Regions from separate parts of the Homo sapiens genome. Here region 1 is linked to region 2. Evidence: promoter capture Hi-C in 16 types of primary human blood cells and fetal thymus (Javierre and others, 2016). All regions are on one chromosome and are shown on one strand. Each heading gives the region's core, a stretch centred on a gene start or on the middle of the fragment in contact. The rest is flanking DNA. Distances are from core to core; before and after follow the strand shown. Region 1 overlaps ITGB3BP (integrin subunit beta 3 binding protein). Region 2 holds the start of LINC00466 (long intergenic non-protein coding RNA 466).

Region 1 (6,647 bases), core at 2,272-4,771, 200 kb after region 2:
TTTTAAAAACTATGATTTCATATTGACATCTCCAATGCCAAGTCAAGAAATTTGAAATTCCTCCATCCAAAGGTGAGAAACTGGCTCCCATCATCCACAATACACTTACTCATTTGACCAAGCCTAGAACACATAAAAACTAGTTTCAGAAGTGCTAACACATACCACCATGGAAAGCAAATCTCTTACTCAAGTTCAGTATTTGCCTAATATTTTTAATGTAAAATTTACATATAGCAAGCAGCACAAATATTAAGTGTATAGATGCGAGTTTTAACAAACATGTACTATATCCCTGAAACTCACATCCATATCAAGATATGGAATATTTGAATCATATGAGGAGGGTACCTCAGGCTCCCTCCAAGTCCATAATCTATACCATACACAACTACTTTTCTAATTTTTTCCAGCATAGATTACTTTTGCCTATTCTAGAATTTCATATAAATAGAACTATACAGTATGTACTTGTGTCTATTTTCTCTGCTCAGCATAACTGTTAGATTCACCCAGGTTGTTGCACATCAGTAGATCATTTATTTTTAATTAATATTCTATCTTAATAAGCCATTTATTTGTTTTCCTGTTGATGGACACTTGGTTTTAGTTTTTAGCCATTATGAGTAAAGCTTCCAAGAACACCTTTTACAAGTTTTTTTGTTTTGTTTTGTTTTCCTTAGCTATACTGCATTCAGTTTTCTTGGATAAATAAATACCTAGAAGTAGAGGTGCTAGATCATTGGGTAGGTGTATATTTATTTAATTTCATAAGAAACTGCCAAAATGTCTAGCAACATGTTATGGTTCATTTGTGTATCTTCTTTTATTAACTATTGGTTCAAATCTTTGGGCCATTATTTTAATAACATTTTTGTCTTTCTACTGTTGATTAGTAAGAGTTCTTTCTTATCCTAAATATAAATCCTTTGTCTGATATATATCTGTTACATACTTTCTCCCAGTCAGTTGTTTGAAAATTTACTTTTTTTGGCTGGGCATGGTGGCTCACACCTCTAATCCCATCACTTTGGGAGGCCAAGGTGGGCAGACCACAAGGTCAAGAGACTGAGACCATCCTGGTCAACATGGTAAAAGCCCATCTCTCCTAAAAATACAAAAATTAGCTGGGTGTGGTGGTGCACACCTGTAGTCCCCGCTACTCGGGAGGCTGAGACAGGAGAATCGCTTGAACCCAGGAGACGGAGGTTGCAGTGAGCCAAGATCGTGCCACTGCACTCCAGCCTGGTGACAGAGCGAGACTCTGTCTCAAAAAAAAAAAAAAAAAAAAGAAAAACAGAAAATTTACTTTTTTTAACGGTATCTCTTGATGAGCAAAAGTTTAAAAGTTAGATGAAGCATAATTTATCATTTTTTCTTTTATAATTATTGCTTTCCGCGTCTTGCCTGAAATTTCACCTACTTCAGACTGTAAAAATATTCTCAAATATTTCCCTCCAGAAACTTTCCTTTTTACATTTAGGACTAAAATGTATCTCAAATTAATTTTTGTATGTAATATAAGGTGAAGGTCAAGGTGTTTTGTTTTTTTCCCCACTGGGTATGCCAGCACCACTTGGGAAGAAAATCTTCTGTTATCCCCACTGAGCTGCTTTGGTACCTTTGTGGGTCTATTTCTGGACTTTCTATTCTATTCTATTTACCTATTTCTCTATATGCCCAAACCACATTGAGTTCATTACCAACACTTTATGCCATGTCTAGTTAGTGTACATACTCCAACTTCATTCTTTTTTTTCAAAATTGTTTTGGCTACTGCAAGTCACTTGCCTTTCCATACAAATTTTGAAATCAGTTTTCAATTTCTAAAAAACGTTTGCTTGAAGAACTAAAAATAGAACTACCATTCAACGCCAGGCACGATGGTTCACGCCTGTAATCCCAGGACTTTGGGAGGCTGAGGTGGGCAGATTACAAGGTCAGGAGTTCAAGACCAGCCTGATCAATATGGTGAAACCCCATCTCTACTAAAAATACAAAAATTAGCCAGGCATGGTGGTGCATGCTTGTAGTCCCAGCTACTCAGGAGGCTGAGACAGGAGAATCACTTGAACTCGGGAGGCGGAGGTTGCAGTGAGCCAAGATTGCACCACTGCACTCCAGTCTGGACAACAGAGCAAGACTCCAACTTAAAAAAAAAAAAAAAAAAAAAAAAAAAAGAACTACCCAGCAACCACCACACTACTGGGTATCTATCAAAGGAAAATAAATCATTATATCAAAAAGACAAATGTACTTGTACATTTATTGTAGCACTATTCACAACAGCAAAGTCATGGAATCATCTTGTGTCCATCAATGGATGACTGGATAAAGAAATGTGGTATATATACACCATGGAACACTATGCAGCCATAAAAAAGAATGATACCGTGTTGTTCTGCAACAACATGAATAGAGCTGGAAATCATTATCTTAACTGGAATAACTCAGAAGCAGAAAATTAGGCCAGGCATGGTGGCTCACATCTGTAATCCCAACACTTTGGGAGGCTGAGCTGAGCAGATTGCTTGAGTCCAGAGTGAGCCTGGGAGGCAGAGGTTGTGGTGAGCAAACTGCACCACTGCACTCTAGCCTGGGTGACAGAGCAAGACCATGTCTCAAAAAAAAAAAAAAAAAAAAAGAGGAGAGGGGAGGGGAAGGGAAGCGGAGCGGGGGAAGGTGGGGGAGAAGGGGGGGGGAAGGGAAAAGGAAAGAAAAGAAAGAAAACAAGAGAAAAAAGAGGAAAGGAAAGCAAAGAAAATCAACTGGGTGTGGCAGTGCTCACACCTGTGATCTCAGCATTTTAGGAGGCTAAGGCATGAGGATTGTTTGAGATCAACATGGGCAACACAATGAGACTCTGTCTTTACAAAAAAATTAAAAATTAGGCCAGTGTGGTGGTGTACACCTGTAGTCCCAGCTACTTGGAAGGCTGAGGCAGGAGGATCACTTGAGCCCAGGAGGTGAAGGTTGCAGTGAGCCATGTTCATGCCACTGCAGTCCAGCCTGGGTGACAGAGTAAGACCTTGTTTCATGAAAAAAAAAAAAAAAGAAAAAAGAAAAAAAAAGAAAAGCAAATACCACATGTTCTCATCTATTAGTGGGAGCTAAACAATGGGTACATATGAACATACAGAGGGAAATAATAGACACTGAGACTTCAAAAGGAGGAAGTATGGGAGGAAGGTGAGGGTTGAAAAATTATCTTTCGGGTACAATGTTCACTATTTGTGTGATGGGCACCTACGAGCTCAAACCTCACCATTATGCAATATATCCTTGTAACAAATCTGCACATATACACCCTGAGTCTATAAAAAATAAAAACAAATAAGTTAGGTATAAATGATCATACTCAAAAAAAGAAAGTACAAAGAAGGAAAATTAGATTACATGAAAAATGAAATATAAAACAGAAAAGATAAAGATAATACCAAATACTATTATACAAGTTTTCATCCACTTAACTTTTTTTAAAAAAGATCCATTTTAAACAGTAGAAATAAAAAAAGAGCAAAACTTAAAAAGAAATGTTTGTTAGGATTATGACAGGGATTGCATTAAATCTAAACATTGGTGAGAACTAACATTTTAATAATACCACATTTATCACTTAAAAATACTCTCACCAGCATGGCACATGTATATATATGTAACTAACCTGCACATTGTGCACATGTACCCTAAAACTTAAAGTATAATAATAAAAAAATAAAAATAAATAAAAATAAATAAAAAATAAATAAAAATACTCTCATTTATCTTCATCTTTAATTTCTCTAAGGAACATTTTGTAATTTTCACTGTAGAGGTCTTGCATGTCTTATGCTAAATTATTATATGTTTTTATGTAATTATAAATGAAAAATCTTAAACTTCAATTTCCAGGTGTTTATTCCTGAAATATAGAAATATATTGATCTTTGTACACTGATTTTGCATCCTACATCCTTGCTAAATTGTTCTGAAAATTGTTTTATAGATTTTTTAGGATTTTCTTCATACATGATGTCATTGTTGAATCATTAATTTTACTTTTTCCTTTTTTGTTGTTGTTGTTTTTGTTTGTCTTGAGACAGGGTCATCCAGGCTGGAATGCAAGTGACACAATCACAGCTCACTGCAGCCTTGACTTCCTCGGCTCAAGTGATCCTCCTGCCTCAGCCTCCCAAGTAGCTGGGACTACAGGCACGTAACGTCACACCTTGTTAATTTTCATATTTTTTCGTAGAGACAGCGTTTTGCCATATTGCCCAGGCTAATCTTGAACTACTGGGCTCAAGCAATCTGCCTGTCTCAGCCTCCCAAAGTGATGGGATTACCGGCATGAGCCACTGGGCCTGGCCCCACTTTTTCCTTTTTAACACTATGGGTGTTTTTCTGTGTGTGCTTTTTTGAATAGAAGTGGTGAGAGGGCACGTTCTTGCCTTTTTCCTAATCTTAAAAAAGTTTTCGATACTAAATATATTATCTATAGGTTTTTCAAAGAAATGAGAAGTTGCCTCCTATTCCTAGTTTGCTGAGGGTTTTATTTTCTCACGAATGGGTATGTTCTCTGTACAATTAACCAATGAAATCGTCTGGGTCTTTGTGGGAAGATTCTTAGTAACAAATTCTATTTCCTTAATTATGCAGATTTTCTGTATCATCTTATGCCATCATGCTAAGTTGTATTTTTCAAGGAATTTGTCAATTTTGTATAAGTTGTCAAGTTTACTGGAATAAAGGCTTTAATGATATTACCTCTTTCAATATCTATAGCATCTTTAGTGGTATTCTGCTCTTTCATTTTGGATATTGATAGTTTATGTTCTCTTTCATCTAAGTACAATTTACCCTTTCATTCTGGATATTGATCATTTGGTTTCTCTCCTGTTAGACTGTTATATCTACCTTTCCCTTTCTTTTCTTTCTTTTTTTTTTTTAACTTTCAACTTTGTTGCTTATAGACAGTAAAGAGTTAGGACTTGCTTTAAAAAAAAATCTAGCCTTATAATATTCTCTACCTTTTTCACTGATGTCTTTACTGCACTTAAACTTGTAATTATCTGGTTGGGGCTACCATTTAGATAGTTGTTTTCTATTTGTCCCATCTGTTTTTGTTCCTTTGTTCTTTTTTACCTGCCTTCTTTTGAATTAACATTATTTTTAAATATATCATTTCAATTCCTCTATTTGTTTTTTAGGTATGCCTCTCTGCATTTTCAGAGGTTACTCTGGGGATTACAGTATGCCTTTTTAACATACCACAGTCTATCTAGAGTTATAATAATACAGTACTACTTCATGTAAAAGAGAAGAATCTTGCAACATTATAGTCAACTCCCTCTACACTTTGTGCCACTGGTATCATATATATTATGTCTACATATAACCCCATAATAGTGTTTAATTTTTGCTTTAAACATTCTCACCTTTTTAAGAAGTTGCAAGCAAAAAATATATAGATGCTCCTTGACTTACAACAGGATTATGTTACAACAAACCCATTGTAAATTGAAAATGTTAGTTGAAAATGCATTTCACACATTTAACCTACTGAACATCACAGCTTAAACATGTTGAGAACTCTTAAATTAACTTATAGTTGGGTAAATCATCTAACCCAAAATCTCTTTTAAAATAAAGTGTTGAACATCTCATGTAATTTATTGAATATTGTGCTGAAAGTAAAGAAAAGAATGGTTGTATGGGTACTTAAAGTAGTTTCTACTGAATGCATATTGCTTTCACACTATTATGAAGTCAAAAAATTCTAAGTTAAATAGACAGGTGAGAGCCACCACGCTCAGCCAAAAAGGCTCTATTATACCTTCCTCTATTAGACTTTACTGACTTTTACAAGCAGGAAAGAATTGCATTTAAATTTCATATTTTTCTTATATCAAGTACTAAAAATTTCACCAATCTTCTTTTAAAATGCAGGACACTTTATTTATAAAAGAAATTATATAACTTTGAATATCTACTATAATTCAAAGGATGTTTATTTAATGGTTAACTTTTACTTGGCCTGACACATCATTCCACCCACCTACTTCTTTATAATCAACCCACAAAATAAAAATCATTGTACCTGGCAGTAGCATCAAAATGATTACAGCATATAGGCACAATAAAGATCCAGAATATGTTTATATTCATTTTCCCTTATCTTGGAAAAAATATAGCACATTTTAAAGTTCTCTCAGAAAACTCTCAGACTATAAATACAGCAGCAGAATGGCCCCCACTGTTACTGTTACGAATAGTTTTTCTACAACACTAATGCTATTCCAACTTTATAGCTTTAGTTCAGTCATAGCTTGGAACAGAATAAAGTTAACTCTGGTAGAGAGTATCTTTGGCTGAATTAGCATGATGATGTACACTAATTAGCAAGACTAAACAAATGGTACTTTTTAAAGGAAGCTTTATAAAGAAAAGGTAGAAGAAGAAAAAAGGTCTAGAATGGGATTTGATTACTTACAGCAAGAGCTACTAAAAAGACATGTATCTGTCTACATAGAATGAAATCTTTCCAAAGTAGCAACTTTATCATTCAATTAATAAATACTTATTGAGCAACTATTTTATCAATGAGGACACTGAGTAACAATCTAAGGAGCACACAGCTGGTTAACAGACTCAAGATTCAAATCCTG
Region 2 (7,236 bases), core at 174-2,673:
ATCCCAGCACTTTGAGAGGCTGAGGTGGGAGGATCGTTTGAGGCCAAGAGCTTGAGACTAGCCTGGGCAACAGAGCGAGATCCCATCTCTACAAAAAATAAAAATAAAAAATTACCTGGGTGTGGTGGTGTGCATCTGTACTCCCAGCTACTCGAGAGGCTAAGGCAGGAGGATCACTTGAGCCCAGGAGGTCGAGGGCTGCAGCCATCTACAATTGCACCACTGTACTCCAGCCTGAGACACAGAGTGAGACCCTGTCTCAAAGAAAAACAAAAAAATGTGTTTCGATATCCGCGATCCATGTCACATCTGTTAGTGTACCTTTAGTACATGACTTCTGCATTGTTTGCTAACTGACATTCTGTGTGAATAAAGCGTGTATCACAATGGTGTTTCCGTATGTTATCCAAGTGGGTCCTTTCCCCAGGATGTGAGTGAGCCTTTGGCATGGTCTTTTTAAGATTTTGCCAAGGGAAGACTGGGCTGGAACTAAGGAGCTAACATACCATTGAAATCAAATATCCCGTTGGGTGCACTGGAGGGTAGAGAAGAGGGGATTCCTGCACTCACGCTAAATGATAAACTTTTCCAAGGGCAGGGTCGTGAGAGGTCTTCCAGGTCACCTAGTGTTCTGAGTCATGCAGAAGTAGGAAATGGACACAATACTCCCCGCAGAGAATCCTTCCCACAGGACTGATCCTGTCCCTTCCTCCCCTCCCCCGCCCCACACAAGGCGGAATCCCCACGCAGTGCACTGCAGGCGCGGTGGCCACTGCCCCTAGAACCAGATCTCTCCCCCAGTCCCGTCCTCTCCAAGCTCCAGATATGTCAAGGATTCTTAAGCAGGGGTTTTCCAATCTGTCCCTTGAGGAACTACCCCTGAGGCAAGGCGGGCAGGCCCAAGCTGCGATGTGGAGAATTCGATGTCCGAGCGACCTCCTCGGAGGAGTGGGTCGAGTTAAATATAACCGCGCGAATGGAATGGCGCTAAAAATAAGGCAGCAGCTGGCCTGTCCACAGCCCTGTCCCGGGAGGGGCGGGGGCCCCAGTGGTCTTGGGCAGGAAGGCCGCGTCCGGCCCAGGGGCGAGAAGGCTGCGGCGTCCGCAGCCAGGGCTGGAAGGCCTGGGAGGCCGCGCTCTGTGGGCCCCGGGGCCTCCATTCGGGCTGGGTCGCGGGCCTGGACGGGGACTGTCCAGAGGCATCCGAAAGCCAGGCCAACTTGCCTGGACGTAACAAGACGGAAGGGCTGGGCGCTGAGGTCCTGCCAGCCCGGCCGCCAGAGGGAGCTGAGCGCCAGAGGAGGACAAGCCGAACCCTTCAGGAGGCCGGGCGTCTCCGGAGACCGAAGCGCCGGAGGACCCGAGGAGGTCTGCCCCGCGCGCTGCTCTGGAGACTCCCGGGGCGGGTGGCGCTCGGCCTTTCCGCTCCCTTCCTTCCCACAAGTCCCTTCCCGCGCGCGCCCCACGGCCCTGCCCGCCCTCCCGCGTCAGCGCCCCAACCGTCAAGCCAGCAATTGAAACGTTTCCAAAACGGTCTATTTATTTGCTCCCAATAAATCGATCGGCGGTGATTAAAGAATCGATGTGGCCTGGGTGGGCGAGTCGCTTGAGGGGAGGGATTGGGGGCTTTCGCCCGGCGCCTGCAGGGAGGCCGAGGGCGGGCGCGGGCCTGAGGGAGGCGTGTCCCGCCCGGGCCACACCCGAGGACCCGACACCTGGGCTGGCAGGCCCCGGCAGGCAGCGTTCCCTCCGGCGGAGAGGGGCGCGCGCCCGCCGCCTGCTTTCCTCGGCCCCTCTCGCCTTTCTCGCGCGCCGGGGAGGCTGTGGCCGCCAGTGGCTGCGGAGCTGCTCAGAGGCTTTTGTTGCTCCTCGGCCGGCTGAATGGGGATTTTGTAAAGCGGGACAGATAAAAATGAGCAGCATCATATTGTTTGACAGAATGATCTCGCATGATGAAGTGTCGGCTCCGAAGGGGGTGAAAATGGTGAATTCCTAAAAACCCAGCCCTGGGCTCCTCCTCGAGCTGCCGGTAGCCTGGAGGGACCCAGCGGACAGCCGGGCCTGGCCGCATCGCTCCAAACGGTGTCAGAAAGACTCCGGCTTTCAATGCCAAGTCATTTTTAAGCCCCGATCCTGTCCAGGACCTTTCTCCTCGTGGATGAAAAGAACAATTTTCGAGAGAAAGGCTCGTTTTTATTAAATCCGACATGCTGCTGATAACTCCATGCTAATGTGAAATAATTAACATAATAGCCATAATTAAAAGCACGCTAACAATGCCATAAATTTATCACACAATTTTACTAGCTTTCTGCCCCTAACTGCTCTCTCATCGTTAATTAAACGTGTTGCCTTTTACAGAATGGATGTTTATATATTTCCAATATAAATAAATTCGAAACCATCCTCTCTCTCTTCCTCTTTCTCTCCTCCTTTCCTTTTGGTCTCTCGCCATTTACAGGCACGCCTTGGCGTGGACCCTGAGTGGCAGACATCTTGAAAATAAATGAAGTTTTGAGATGCAAATCCAAACAAGAACATTAAAATAGCCTCTTTTTTTCCACCCCGAAAAGATCCGGAGAGGTATACAAGGGGGTAGTGGTGGGTAAGAGAGTTGAAAATCCCCCGCTTTGGGAAATGGAAGTAATCTGGGTGGGTTGGGGCCTTGGGTACCACCTCTGCCCTTTCCCACCTTCCTTGGTGGCGGCCATCCAGACAAAGAGGCCGGTAATAGTTTAACAAATCTATGAAGATTTTCAAGAAGCAGCAGACTTTGATTGTTGCGGGCGCGGGGGTGTTGGGGAGAAAGGAGGGGAATTTTTCTAATAGTCCCACCCACGTTTTGCTCCCTCTTGGACAAAGAGTAACTACTCTTGGTGGGGGACGCGCCCTTCACTCCGCGGAACCTGGTCCCAACTCCCCGTATTGTAAGAAAAGTGCACCCGCGCGCGGGCATGATGATTCTATCTCACATCGCGCCAACGACTTATTCAAGCCACTGGCACTGTCTCTGACTTAAAAGAGGAGAAAAGAGGCATATGGGTTCACTTGGGCCTGGTGAGGGGTAGGTGGGCAATTCCCGCCTTCCGCACTCTAACCGTGCCCCTCCTCCAGTGTTGACCACCTAAGAACCCAAAATGAGCTGTAATTAATTTCCCTTTCTCCATCATAAATTTTTCTATCCATTTCTTCCCCCCCATCCCCCCACTGGACGCACACACTAAATCTCCCCTCCCCTGGAGACGTCTCAATTTCCTTCCTATCGATCCGGACTCCATTCTTCTTGCCTCCTGTTGCTAGAACCTAGATCCCCACTCCCCGCACCCCTCATTCCCACCGCGTCCAGGTGGCTTTCCCAGCGGGGTACCATGTACTCTGCCCGCTCCAGAGGAACCGAAGGGGTTTCATTCCATTCTCCTTTGGTTGAAACATTTCAAACATTTGAGCAGGTGAGGCAGCTGGCTGCCATCTTCCTTTTTAAATCTCTCCTGGGAAGTTCGCTTGTTGAGACTCAAAGAGTCACTCAAACTCATAATTGCGTGTGTGTGTCTACTCATTCTCCCTCTATCTCTCCAATAACCCTTTGAGACTCAGAAACTTTTTATCCACATACACCCTTTATCACATTTTCTTCCCCCCACTACATGTGTCTCACTTTCTCTCTGTATCTGTCTCGCTTCTTCCGTCTCTGTCCTACAGCTTGGCGGTAACTGACGACCTGTGAGCTTTTAGCTGCAAACTGCAACTACGCGGCAAACAATTTATTTAGCCCGACATCTAGCCGGTCTCCGGCAGGACCCTGCACCGCGTCGGGATCGGACCCTTCCGCTGGGGCGGCCTCCTGCGTCAAGGCCAGCAGGAACCTTCCTGTCGCCCTCCCCGGCCGCCGCTTCGCCTCCTTCCCGCCCCCGGAGGTTGTGCAGGCGCTATGGTCCGCCTGGAGGGAGAAAGCCGGCGGCCGGTTCCTGAGCCGAGAGCGGCCGCGGAAAAATCCTCTGCCTCCGCTGGAAATCGATATTAGGCCGGCGCGGGCGCGGGACGTCGGGGCCGCAGCCAGTAGGTTGTGCACGTCTCATCATTTAGCTAATCGAGTCGAAAAGTTTCTGTAAGGGCCGGACCCAGCATCAGATGGTAACACTGATTGAACAAGAGATTAGCACAATAGATCTCTAACCGAGGGGAAGCGTTGCTTTTCACGCTACGCGCCGTAATTAATGGTATGAATCAATTAATTTGACTTTTATTGTGTCGAAGGAAAAAAGCGCAACAAATGGAACCGGCAGCTGGGAGTTGTTCGTCCTCCACCCCCTTCCCCAGGGAGGTTCCAAGGAGACACCGGGGAATGGACGGATCAGGCTGGGCCGTGGCAGAGGGAGGGTAGGAGGCAGCGACCAGCAGCGTGGAGGGAGTCCAGAGAGCTAGCCTCTGCGGACGGCGGAATCGAAATTAGGCTCATTTGGAGACTACTTCGAGACCGGTGAGGGGAGCCCTGTAGCCACCATCCTCCGGCGCGCATCCACACATACTAGTCCACGCGGGCCCAGCCACCAAGGCCGCGGCAGGGCCAGCGCTGCGCCCCGGGCCCCTGCCTTTAGGGCTGGGCAACCCAAGCAGAGCAAAGGAGGTTCCTGAATGTGTAAATTTCCGCTTTTTAGCTTTTTTTTTTTTTTTTTTTGGACCTTCCGACACTTCGGTTGCTGAGGCAGTTGCAGACGCGACCTCTGCAGTCCTGGGCGATGGCCAGCCAGCTCAGCTCGGGTCGGTTTCGCGGAAAGCTGTCTAGACGGCATTGTAAACGGTTCGGAGCCTGCGGGCCACAAAGCTGTGGAGCTACGGAAATCAACTCTGAGATGCGTTTTAGGGCCGTGTGCAACCTCGGGATCATTTAGATAAAGAAAAACTGTGGAGGTTGGCGGGCGTCTCAGGATAGTGTCACCACCCCCTACCCTGCTCCCAGCCTCAGATGAGTAGTGTTATATCCTGGGAAACTGTCTAATGGGGATGAAAGTCAATCTGTGTGTCTCAATGCCTGTAATGAAGCAAGTTTACAGATTTTTAAATTTTTATTTTTATTTTATTGAATTATTTTTGGTGTGTCTAGGCCAAGGAAAGAGGAGATCGTGGGTGGGGAAACAGACTGAGGGAATCAGAAGCACCACTGTCCATCCGGAATTAAATCCACATCCCAGCATCTTCTGCAAATATTTCACTAATTATTTCCTCTCGGAACTCCTCCCCTCGTGCTCCTTCCTCTGGTGAGGCCGGCGCTCCCCTCCCAGGCCGCAGCGGACAGACAGGGATTGGGTTCCGTGTGCCTGCCACACCAGGCAGGCTCTTGCGGCTCCCAACTAGGCGGCCTAAATGAGGGAGGAAAGAGGAGGCGCATCGCTGATTCACCGCGTCAAGAGCACTGACTTTCCTTGGAGGTGTGAGGTCCACGCACCCCAGCCACGCACTTGGGGGTCGGTTTGCGGTGCCTCCCCCTCCAGTCCCAGTGAAATCCCCACAGTTTTTCCTACTATCACTGACTTGCCTTGCACTCCGCGTGCATTGGCCACACATCCTCGCCTCCTCCACCCGCTCCGCCGCCGGTTTTCTTGGAAGTTAAATCTTGGAGGATTTGTCCACACCTTAAGAGAAGAAAATCCACGTTAGCTGGCAGCAACGGAGATCCCAGCATGCTGGCATGCCCAAGTCTGCCCAGGTTCCCCCAAGGCCATGCCCGCCGCCCGGGAAGTCACTGCCCGCACCCCTCACGTTTCTTCAGCCGCCCCTGGGCGCTGCGTCTAACCTGAAGACACCAGGCCTCTTCCCGGATCCACTCGACTTACCCAGGCCGCTGCCAATCCCAGCTCCTTCCCCAGCGCCTCATTTCCGATTTTTTCATATGCTAAGTCGTTTAACAACTCCAAGTAGCCAGTTATGGCTTCTTTATTTATAGGTTCCCTGCTATTTTACGTCGTTTTTATTTCTCTCGGCAACTATTCTAGTAGATTAATCAATAGCCATTTTCTGACCTTCGGGAACCCCAGCTGATGCTTTTTGTGGCCGCACGAAAAAATACATACAGGAAAACACGCCCGCATCAAGCCGGGAAAGAGCAGGTAGGACCTGAGTGGTTTGGTTGGGGGAGGGGGAAAAAGACATCTCAGCAGGTGTCTTCCCCGGAATGAGCACTGAGGCCAGAGGGGAATCTGAAATCTAATTAGCAGGAGGGAGCCGGGTGCGCTGCTCTTACTCTTTAAAGCTAAAAACAATGAAACAAAAAGCAAAACAGAGACTAAGTTTTGCTTTTTAAAACACGATATGGGAACCTCGTTCTAGGTCGCCCAGTCCCTGTCTAAGGAGTGTGACAAAGTGGGGGGGAGAAGGGCGGAAGGGAGAGGGGGCGGGGAAGGCAGGGCAGCGACAGTCGCACAGTCCCGCGGACGCTCCCAGGCCCACGCCCTGACTCGCTCACACCCACCCACACTCACACCCACCCGCTCCCTGGGCCCCAGGGCCCGGATCCAGCCTGGGTGGGGGGGTCTCCGGGCGGGCCGCAGCGCCCTCCGTGCCCCGGGGATGCTGGCGCACAGTGCGGAGCGGAGTTGCGCGTCTCTCGTCCCTTTGTTGACAATTCCCTGAACCAACTTGAGTTTGGCCGGCTCGGCCGCGGCCCTGACGTCACGCACGGTCACGTGGCCCCGCCTCCCGCTGGATCTTTAAGTAGAAAGTAATCTATCAGGCCAGTCCTTAAAACGGGACTTTCGACTACCGGGGCTTCGGCGTCCCTGACACCCAGCCCCCTGCCCCCCCGCTACTGTCCCTGCCCGCGCCCTCCCGAGCTGCTCGGCGCCCGGCGTCCCGCGCCCGCCTGGACCGCTCCTGCGCCCCACGCCAGGGCCAGAGGCCGAGGAAGGCGGGCTAAGTGAGGGGGCGCGGCGTGGAGAACCGCCGGGGCCGGGAGCGGTAGCGAGCGCCTAGTACCGAGCGCCAGGGACGGCAGGAGTTCGCGGAGCGCGGCCGCTGGGGGCGGACGGCAGAGCCCGCGCCACGCGATGCGGGGCCGCCGAGTGTGAGCTGAGCCCAGCGGGCCCCAAGCCACCTGCGGCCCCCTCCCCTCTCCCTGCCCCCCATCTTTCGGGGGCACTCAAACCCTCTTCCCCTGAGCTCCGTGGCAGCCCCCGAACACCCTCATCGCCCGCTGCCCCCTCCCCGCCGCCGCTACCAACCCCGAGGAGGGATGACCCTCTC

The links. The method cuts DNA at HindIII sites, captures the fragments that hold promoters and counts their contacts. A CHiCAGO score of 5 or more calls a contact.
Region 1: a contact is called between a fragment that was not itself captured here and the fragment with the promoter of LINC00466 in region 2, in 1 of 17 cell types (monocytes). The highest score is 7.1, in monocytes.

What each region holds. Positions count from the first base shown.
Region 1 is chr1:63,513,674-63,520,320 of GRCh38, forward strand. All of the region lies in intron 1 of ITGB3BP (integrin subunit beta 3 binding protein), which reads right to left. It overlaps LOC102724319 (a long non-coding RNA gene), which reads left to right. Exons shown (of 3, transcript XR_426701.4): 3 at 4,083-4,121. Among named protein-coding and RNA genes, the nearest start is that of ITGB3BP, 6.2 kb to the right of the region's middle. The HindIII fragment of the contact is 5,782 bases long and covers 631-6,412 here.
Region 2 is chr1:63,315,834-63,323,069 of GRCh38, forward strand. It overlaps LINC00466 (long intergenic non-protein coding RNA 466), which reads right to left and starts at 1,424. Exons shown (of 12, transcript NR_038252.3): 1 at 1,225-1,424; 2 at 116-254. FOXD3 (forkhead box D3) reads left to right here and starts at 6,734. Exons shown (of 1, transcript NM_012183.3): 1 at 6,734-7,236. The coding sequence starts at 7,226. FOXD3-AS1 (FOXD3 antisense RNA 1) reads right to left here. Exons shown (of 3, transcript NR_121637.1): 2 at 5,534-5,630; 3 at 5,051-5,357. RefSeq lists silencers at 1,570-1,749, 6,342-6,651, 6,772-6,851 and an enhancer at 7,175-7,236. The HindIII fragment of the contact is 23,330 bases long and covers 1-7,236 here.